Regions from separate parts of the Homo sapiens genome. Here region 1 is linked to region 2. The links are contacts of gene promoters, found by promoter capture Hi-C in human tissues and cell types (Jung and others, 2019). All regions are on one chromosome and are shown on one strand. Each heading gives the region's core, a stretch centred on a gene start or on the middle of the fragment in contact. The rest is flanking DNA. Distances are from core to core; before and after follow the strand shown. Region 1 overlaps PAQR5 (progestin and adipoQ receptor family member 5). Region 2 holds the start of KIF23 (kinesin family member 23).

The links. Contacts are between HindIII fragments. The study calls those that stand out against the background at their distance.
Region 1: a contact is called between a fragment that was not itself captured here and the fragment with the promoter of KIF23 in region 2, in 2 of the 25 tissues and cell types used here (mesendoderm cells and pancreas).

Annotation. Positions count from the first base shown.
Region 1 is chr15:69,359,438-69,363,313 of GRCh38, forward strand. It overlaps PAQR5 (progestin and adipoQ receptor family member 5), which reads left to right. Exons shown (of 9, transcript NM_017705.4): 3 at 529-694. The coding sequence starts at 644. Among named protein-coding and RNA genes, the nearest start is that of KIF23, 53 kb to the right of the region's middle. The HindIII fragment of the contact is 4,443 bases long and covers 1-3,498 here.
Region 2 is chr15:69,412,070-69,415,965 of GRCh38, forward strand. KIF23 (kinesin family member 23) reads left to right here and starts at 2,280. Exons shown (of 24, transcript NM_001367805.3): 1 at 2,280-2,407. The coding sequence starts at 2,397. It overlaps KIF23-AS1 (KIF23 and PAQR5 antisense RNA 1), which reads right to left and starts at 2,960. Exons shown (of 2, transcript NR_132971.1): 1 at 2,083-2,960. RefSeq lists silencers at 2,450-2,569, 2,600-2,679. The HindIII fragment of the contact is 14,046 bases long and covers 1-3,896 here.

The DNA.
Region 1 (3,876 bases), core at 27-2,526, 54 kb before region 2:
CCCTTTTAAGGGCTCACAACTCTAAGGGGGTGCGTGTGAGAGGGTCGTGATTGATTGATCGAGCAGGGGGTATGTAACTGGGGGTTGCATGCACTGGTAATTAGATGGGAACAAAACAGGATATGGATTTTCGCAGTGCTTTTCTATACAATGTCTGTAATCTATAGATAACATAACTGATTAGATCAGGGGTCAATCTTTAACTACCAGGCCCAGGGTGTGGTGCCGGCTGTCTGCTTGTGGATTTCATTTCTGCCTTTTAGATTTTACTTTTTCTTTCTTTGGAGGCAGAAATTGGGCATAAGACAATATGAGGGGTGGTCTCCTCCCTTATTATTAATTACCTCCCTCCAGCACTCTTGGAGTGGATGACTCAGCAGTCTGATCATTTTGCTGTTTTTAAGGAAGCTTGATCTTGTGCCATCATGTGTAGCAAGTATATGTTCAATAGTTGAACAAGCTGACTGTCCTGACCCAGCTGGAGTTAGGCTGAAACTGACTGGATTTCTTCATGCTGTCCTCTTTCAGGGAAGCGGCACAGCACCAGCTAGGCAGAGACGCCCCAGGCCATGTTAGAGCTTTGAGTGAGGCCTGGTAACAGGGAGGCGCTGTCACCTACTGGCCTTGCCAATCCAGCTCCAAGATGCTGAGCCTGAAGCTCCCCAGGCTGTTTAGCATAGACCAGATACCCCAGGTATGTGCTCTATTGATTATGATGGTTCATTTCCAGAGTGTGACCAGGGCTTGGCCTCCGCAATGGGGGGCTGTTGTCTTCACCTAGTCTGTTCTGTACAGGCCCATTCCCTTCAAGGACCCCTTCCCACACTTCCTTGGGGGATATTACAGCCTCCTACTTCCCCCACCTACCTTGAAATGGAAGTATTCCCAAAGTTGTTTAAGTTGTAACCCTTCCTTGCAACATCTGTGTGTTATCCAGAAGCAAAGTCATTACTGAGATTCAACCTGAAGAGATAAAGCCAGCAGCAGCTGGCTGGGTAGGAAGTTTATTTTTTCAGGCCCCTCCTATGGGTGCTTGAAAGCAGGCTATGGGCAAAGGCACACCAGGTCATGGCTTTGCTCATCCCCATTACTTGCAGGATGCCCAGGCCAGGCCTTCACTGGGGCGATGGGGAGGGTTGTTGAATGAGCCTTAGCATTGCCCTTTAGTGGACCCATGGGCCTGGGAGCTCACAGGCAGGTACCCTGAAATATGTGAGACTCACTGATGATCTGCTTTACTAAGCCATAGGTGAGCCTGGTTGTGTGCTACAGAGAACTGGTGCACTTCCTCCTTCTCTTGCAAAGGAAACATCATTGTGTTGCACCCCTTTGTTGATGTCAAATTTCCTTCCTTTTTGACTAAGAAAAGTGGGTGTCATTTCATGGTGGGAAGTTTCTTTGGGAAGATGTGACAGAGTGGAGGAGAGTTCTACTTGGCTTGGCTGATTACCAAGCACTTATGACTTGCCCCAGAAAAATAAGTTTGAAATAAACTCAACATCACCAATGGAAGGTTGAGGGGGAAATTGCCAAACCCTAACCCTAAAAGCCTGTGAAGCCAGGTGATTCCAGGAAGATGGCATGGGGGAAAACCGTAAGTGGTGCAGAGCTGTTTGGTGGGGTGAGCTGAGGAATGTGGCAAGTAATAGGCAAGCTACACGTGTGGCTGTCTCCCATGACACTGGGCAGAGCACCTGCCTCTGTTCTCACAGGGCAATCACCTTCTCCTTTTGGTGCACTTTGCTGGTTGGTTCTACCCATAGAGCATTAGCAGCTGTGATTAGTGGGAACACAGTGTGATTCTTGAATTTATTTACTCATGAAATTTGTATTGACTGCCTACTATGTGCAAGGGATTCAGAGAATAATTACATACAAATCCTGTCCTTGCGTGACTCATATGTTGGTCAGGAAGATTTTTAAATGTGCATGAGAAATTCTTTTCTAAAGTGGGTTAGGGTCTATCTTAAGACAGGGTGATTGTTTCAGAGAAGGGATTGGTCACTTCCATCACGAGGGAGTGTATTAGTCCATTCTCACACTGCTATAAAGAACTGCCTGAAACCTGGTAATTTATAAAGAAAAGAGGTCTAATTGACTCACAGTTCCTCATGGCTGTGGAGGCCTCAGGTAACTTACAATCATGAGGGAAGAGGCACGTCTTACATGACAGTAGGCAAGAGAGAGCATGATGTGAAGGAGGAACTGTCAGACACTTATGAAACCATCAGGTCTCAAGAGAACTCACTCACAGTTTGGGGGACAACACCCCCATGATCCAATCACCTCCCACCAGGTTCCTCCCTTGACATGTGGGAATTATAGGGATTACAATTTCAGATGAGATTTGAATGGGGACACAGAGCCAAATTATATCAGGGAGGAAGTGATCAGGGAAGGCTTCATGAAGGGGGTGATCTGAGGGGTGGACAGGATTGTGGAAGTGGGGAGAGCATTCCAGGTGGAAGGAGCAGTGTGAGCAAAGGCCTAGAGATGGGAGATCATGGGGCAGGTGGTGATGGTGGGGGGACTGGGGAGCGTCTTGGGGGTAGAGGTTATGGGAGTCTGCTTAGATATCTTTCTGGACATTTTGGTCAGGGTTGGATTCAGAGTATGTCCGCAGGAAAGAAGTGAAGGGGGCAGAGTGGTATCAATAGGTCCTTTGGGTAACCTGCTGGGAATCTGAATGTATGGAGATTCTGAATGTCAGGGCTGGACAACCCTGGCAGAGGCTAAGGGAGAAAGATGAACATGTCCTCTCTGTCCAGTTTTTCGTAAGTTAGAGGATGATGATATCTTTAGTGAAATGGCACTAGCTAGAGGCAGAAGACCAACATCACACTTTGCAGCCACCGTTTGCTTCAAAATCTGCCTTGGGCTCCAGCATCCACTATTGGGTTTTTGGGCATCATGCCCAGGGTTCATGAAGCCATAGAGAAAATATAGTGGCTCTGCCTGCCTGGAGGGTAGTTTTACCTGAGGATTTGGGGGCAAAGACATTTATTAGTATTAAAACAGATGCACAGGTATTAAAAATGGAATGCACAATTTACATGAATATTTAAAATAGGATACTTCATACAATTGTTAAAGCTTACCTTTGGTGGGATCTGTGGGTTCCAATACTTGGTTTTTAGAGTGGCCTCAAGCAAGATAATCTCTCTACCTCAGCTTTGGCTTCTGTAAAATGGGAATGACAACAGTATCTGCCTCCTGGGGTTGTGAGAATTAAATGAGATAACCCAAGTGAAGTGCCTGGCACGTGGTGAACAATTAATAATGTTGGTTGTCATTATTAGCATTCTCTCCTAGGCTCTTTAGGGCACTTTGAGGGGTAGAGCATGCTGGCAGGAGACTTCAGAGGCCCTGTCCATAGACTCGAACCCCGGCTCCCTCGCCTGCTGTTCACCACCTTCACCAGCCTGATCCCTCCCCACCTCTTCCACCACGTCCCATCCACAGACCCTCTTCTCTTTATTCTCCCCAGGAGATGCAACCTTCACTTGTCTTGATTTCTGTTTGAAGAAGGCTTTCCTCTCCCCAACCTTTGCTCCCCCTTTGTGACTTCCTTTTTTATGGAGTGGCAGGTGCCTGCTCCCTTCCCCGAGCTCCTTCAGCTGTTGGTTGTACCTCTACAAGCTGCTCTGTACAGCTGCCTCTCCTTTTGTGTATCAGCCAGCTATGTGACCTGGGCCACTTCACTACCCTGTCTGGGCCTCAGCCATCTATAGGGAATGGTGTGCCCACCTCTCTGCATCATCAGAGTTGTAATCCTGGTCCATTCTTGGTGCATTCCTGGCTGATAGATTGTTCATGGAAAAGGGCAGTTTCTCTCTTCCCTCAGAAGGCAGAATTTGTGTGTATGCCTCATAATAT
Region 2 (3,896 bases), core at 1,030-3,529:
AATAAAAATAACCAAAATGTGAAAAATAAAAGTATTTAAACTCGTATTTTGGATGAGGACCAATTTTTTTTTAATATAAGAACTTTCACAGATCATTAAGAAAAACGAACAACCAATAGAACAAAGAGGCAAAGAATATGAACACAGTTGATAGAGAAGGAATCAAAAGGGCTCTAAAATATATGAATAGACAACATTTATCTGAAAATAAATGAAAAATTTAACTACATGTTTTTTCTCACCAATTGATATGAGATATCAATAGATTGGTAGCTACTGAAAAGTTTGATAACACTTTGAGAATTGTGGAGAAATAGGCACTCTCATACAGGCTGGTGGGAGTGTACATTTGGACAGCTTTTATGGAGAATGATTTGCAATATCTGTGAAATGTTACACATATGTATACTCTTTGACTCAGCAATTCTGTTTCTAGAAATGTTTCCTACATATTTACCTGCATTGTATAAATTTCCACATTCATTCACTATAGCTGTATCTGTAATAGGAAAAGTTGGAACCATCCTAATGTGCAATGTAGGGGTGGAAAAGGTGTGATACTTTTCTTTACCCATCTTAAGGGTCACAGCTGACACTACCATAACAAAAAACAGGTTAGCAAGATAAATGGATAACTTATTGAATCACAGTTTTATGGGATGTAAGTGCCTTCAGAAATGAAGACCCAAAGACCCAGGGAAAGCTGTCCATTTTTATGCTTAGATGAGATGAAGAATGGACAGCTGTGTAGAAATGTGATTGTACAAAAGGAGTATGATCTAATAGTAACAGACTGAAGGAGGAATCCAGCAAGTCCTGTCTGTTCAGATTCTTCTTGGCCTCTCTGTGCAGCTTTCCTTCTTCCTGAGTGTAGGGCAAGACCCTTTTGGAACGAGGGTCTTATGACAAGGTACATCAAAGAATGTCTTTATGGCCAGCTCTTACACAAAAAGGTGGGGGAAGGCTAGATTAATATTTCTAGGTTTTTCTAGAATAATGTTTCTGGCTTGCTTGGGAGAAAAGGGGTTCTAGTTTCCATGACCCGCCTTGGGGAACAGAAATTCTGGTTTCTATTATTTGCTTTAGGAGACACAGAGGGGTGGGAGACAAGAGGGCAGGAGAAAGTCAGAGACAGACTTTGCTTTTAAGGCTTCTCTGAGGCACTTTCAGTCTTCTTTAGTTCAAAGCACTCAGTGTGCCAAAGAGCCATACTCTGGGGTGTCGTTTCCTGAGCACCAACAATATTGGCCAAGGACATTGTGACTATCCTTACCAGTGCTGTGGTCCTTTAGGAAGTTGAGAAGGGGCTAGAGTTCCATGAGAGCCCAGGTGTAGATGTGTATTTGGTAGTCATCGGCTTAGGGTCAAAGACAGAAGTGATATAGAATCAGTTCATCTAAGGCAAGAGTAGGTTCAAAAGGTTGCCCCTTAAGGGTAAGGACCAAATTTTATTCATCTCCGTAAGGCCAGGATCAAACACAATCAAGATTTGATAAAACAGGCCGGGCGCAGTGGCTCACGCCTGTAATCCCAGCACTTTGGGAGGCCAAGGTAGGCAGATCACCTTAAGTCAGGAGTTCTAGACCACCCTGGCCAATATGGTGAAACCTCATCTCTACTAAAAATACAAAAATTAGCTGGGCGTGGTGGTGCGCGCCTGTAATCCCAGCTACTCGGGAGGCTGAGGCAAGAGAATTGCTTGAACCTAGGAGGTGGAGGTTGCAGTGAGCTGAAGACTGCAGTCCAGGCTGGGCGACAGAGCAACTCCACCTCAAAAAATAAAAAAGGAAAAAAAAAAGATTTGATAAAATAATGTACATATAGGACAGAGCTGGAGGGAAACCCAGGAAAGGTGAATCAGAGAGAGAAAAGACGCCAAGATAATGTGGTGACTTGGGAGCCAGAGAGACGGAGCCTGAGACTTGGAGCAGGGCACAGCACAGGAATACAACACTTTTCACCAGAACGACATTCCGACCTCTGAATCAACCCTGGAAAGGCCCTTCCATTGAACTTCTTGTGATGGAGGAAAAGAAACCCTCAGTTTCGTCATCGCAAGGCGGAAGAGTTTAAATACCATACCTCAAGATCTCCCTCCAGCCCTGACACGCGACTCCGCGGCCCTTTCAGCGTCGGTCGCCTAGGAGACAAGCGCCACTTCCGGCAGCGAAGTCACTTCCGCGGAGGTCCTGCCTCTCCCTGCGGACGGGCGCTGATTGGCCCGTTTGAAATGCGCCAGGCGGGAGCTCACCTGGGCTCTTAGCGTCGCCGCCGGCTTCGCAGAGCACCGCGCCTTAGCCGCGAAGTTCTAGTTCTTGCTGCCGGTCCTAACGTCCCGCAGTCTTCGCCAGCCAGCCGTCCCGCATGCGCGTTTGGGCGGCGTGGAGCCTGCTGCCATGAAGTCAGCGTGAGTACGAGGCCGCCGAGCAGGGAGAGAGGGCGGACGGGGGCCGAGGCCTCGGGGCTGGGGGCAGGCGTCTCCACTCAGGCCGCGGCCGTACGCGGGCAGCGCGGACAGCATCCCGCCCGGTGCTGCTGCGGCCGCGACCCCAAAGTGGGAACCTCCACGTGTGGCCGCTCCGCGGGAGCCTGGGCGCGGAGACCCCTGCCGCGTCGCCCCCCGCCGCCCCGCCTGGGCCTCCAAGGGGCCAGGAAGGGTCGGCCCGGAGCCGGGGTTGTTTTACGCCGCACCCGGTTCCCGGGGGCGGGGCAGTCCTCCTCGGGGTCCCGGGACAGCCTTTCCCTTCTCCCTCGCTGGCTGCCGCCGCCTCCAGAGTGCAGTTGGCCAACTTAGTGCGGGTCGGAGGTGGTCTCGTGTGTGGAGCAGAGCGAGTGTGCTGGGCATTGGTTAGATGGGCTCCGTTTCTGGAGAGCCCTGGCACCGGTGATCGCCGCTAGCTTTTTTTTCAGCCGAGCACCCTGTCCTTGAGGCCGAGCCCATCCGCTTACACAGGCCAGTTACTTCTGCTGTATTTTGTGGCCGCAGAGAACCTCCGCCCACATTCCTAAGCTAATATTTTCGGCGCAGCATCATTCCTGGGTAAAGAAATATTTGTCGTGCAAAGGAGAGGATTGGCTTTATTACCATTTAGGGAGTCGTTTGCAAAAGACAACTTGTTTATTAAGAGGCCGAAGTCAAAATCTTTAGATGAAAAAAATTATATATAAGAAATATACGTTGAGTTTAACTTAAGCCCACCACAAAGTATTTTGCACTGAATAACACGAATTTGCTTGTGTTTCATCTGAGAATATGTTTGGAAAAATATTTTTAAACTACAGTCGAAGCCAATAATCTTACTTAATTTTAATGTGTTAAATGTATATCTAGCCTATAGATAAATGTGAAGGGAAAAAGATGAGATGCTAGAGAAATGGTGAAATCAATCAAAATAACTTTTTGATTGCCCCTACTTAAGAAACCAAGAAATTGGCAGTTTGGGACCAGATTTTGTTTGGAGACAAAGAGTAATGTTTTGAGCATTCAATGACTGGTTGTTCCTTGAAAGTACAGGCGTAACCCTTGACGAAAGAATGGTTTCCTCCATGTGCATTTTTATAGTGTATTGAAGTTAATCGCTTGTCAGTCTGTAAAGTGTGGGCAGTTATAATTTGTAGTGCCTCTGTTAAATTGTTGCTCAAGAAAATATGCAAGCCATTTTAAGTATAGAACTAATCAGAGAATAAGTAGGTAGCTTTGGTACCAAAAATGTATTCTAAAGCAAATTTTAATTACTTTTGGATTACGCATGCCACAAACACTCTGCTACTATGATTATTAATGTTATTTGGGATGCAGTGTTTTGCAACTGCTAAGGGATAATTTACAGATAACCTAGAAAGATTGTATAAGTTTTAGGTGAGGCTTTTGTATTCGTGTTGAACTGAAAAAAAAG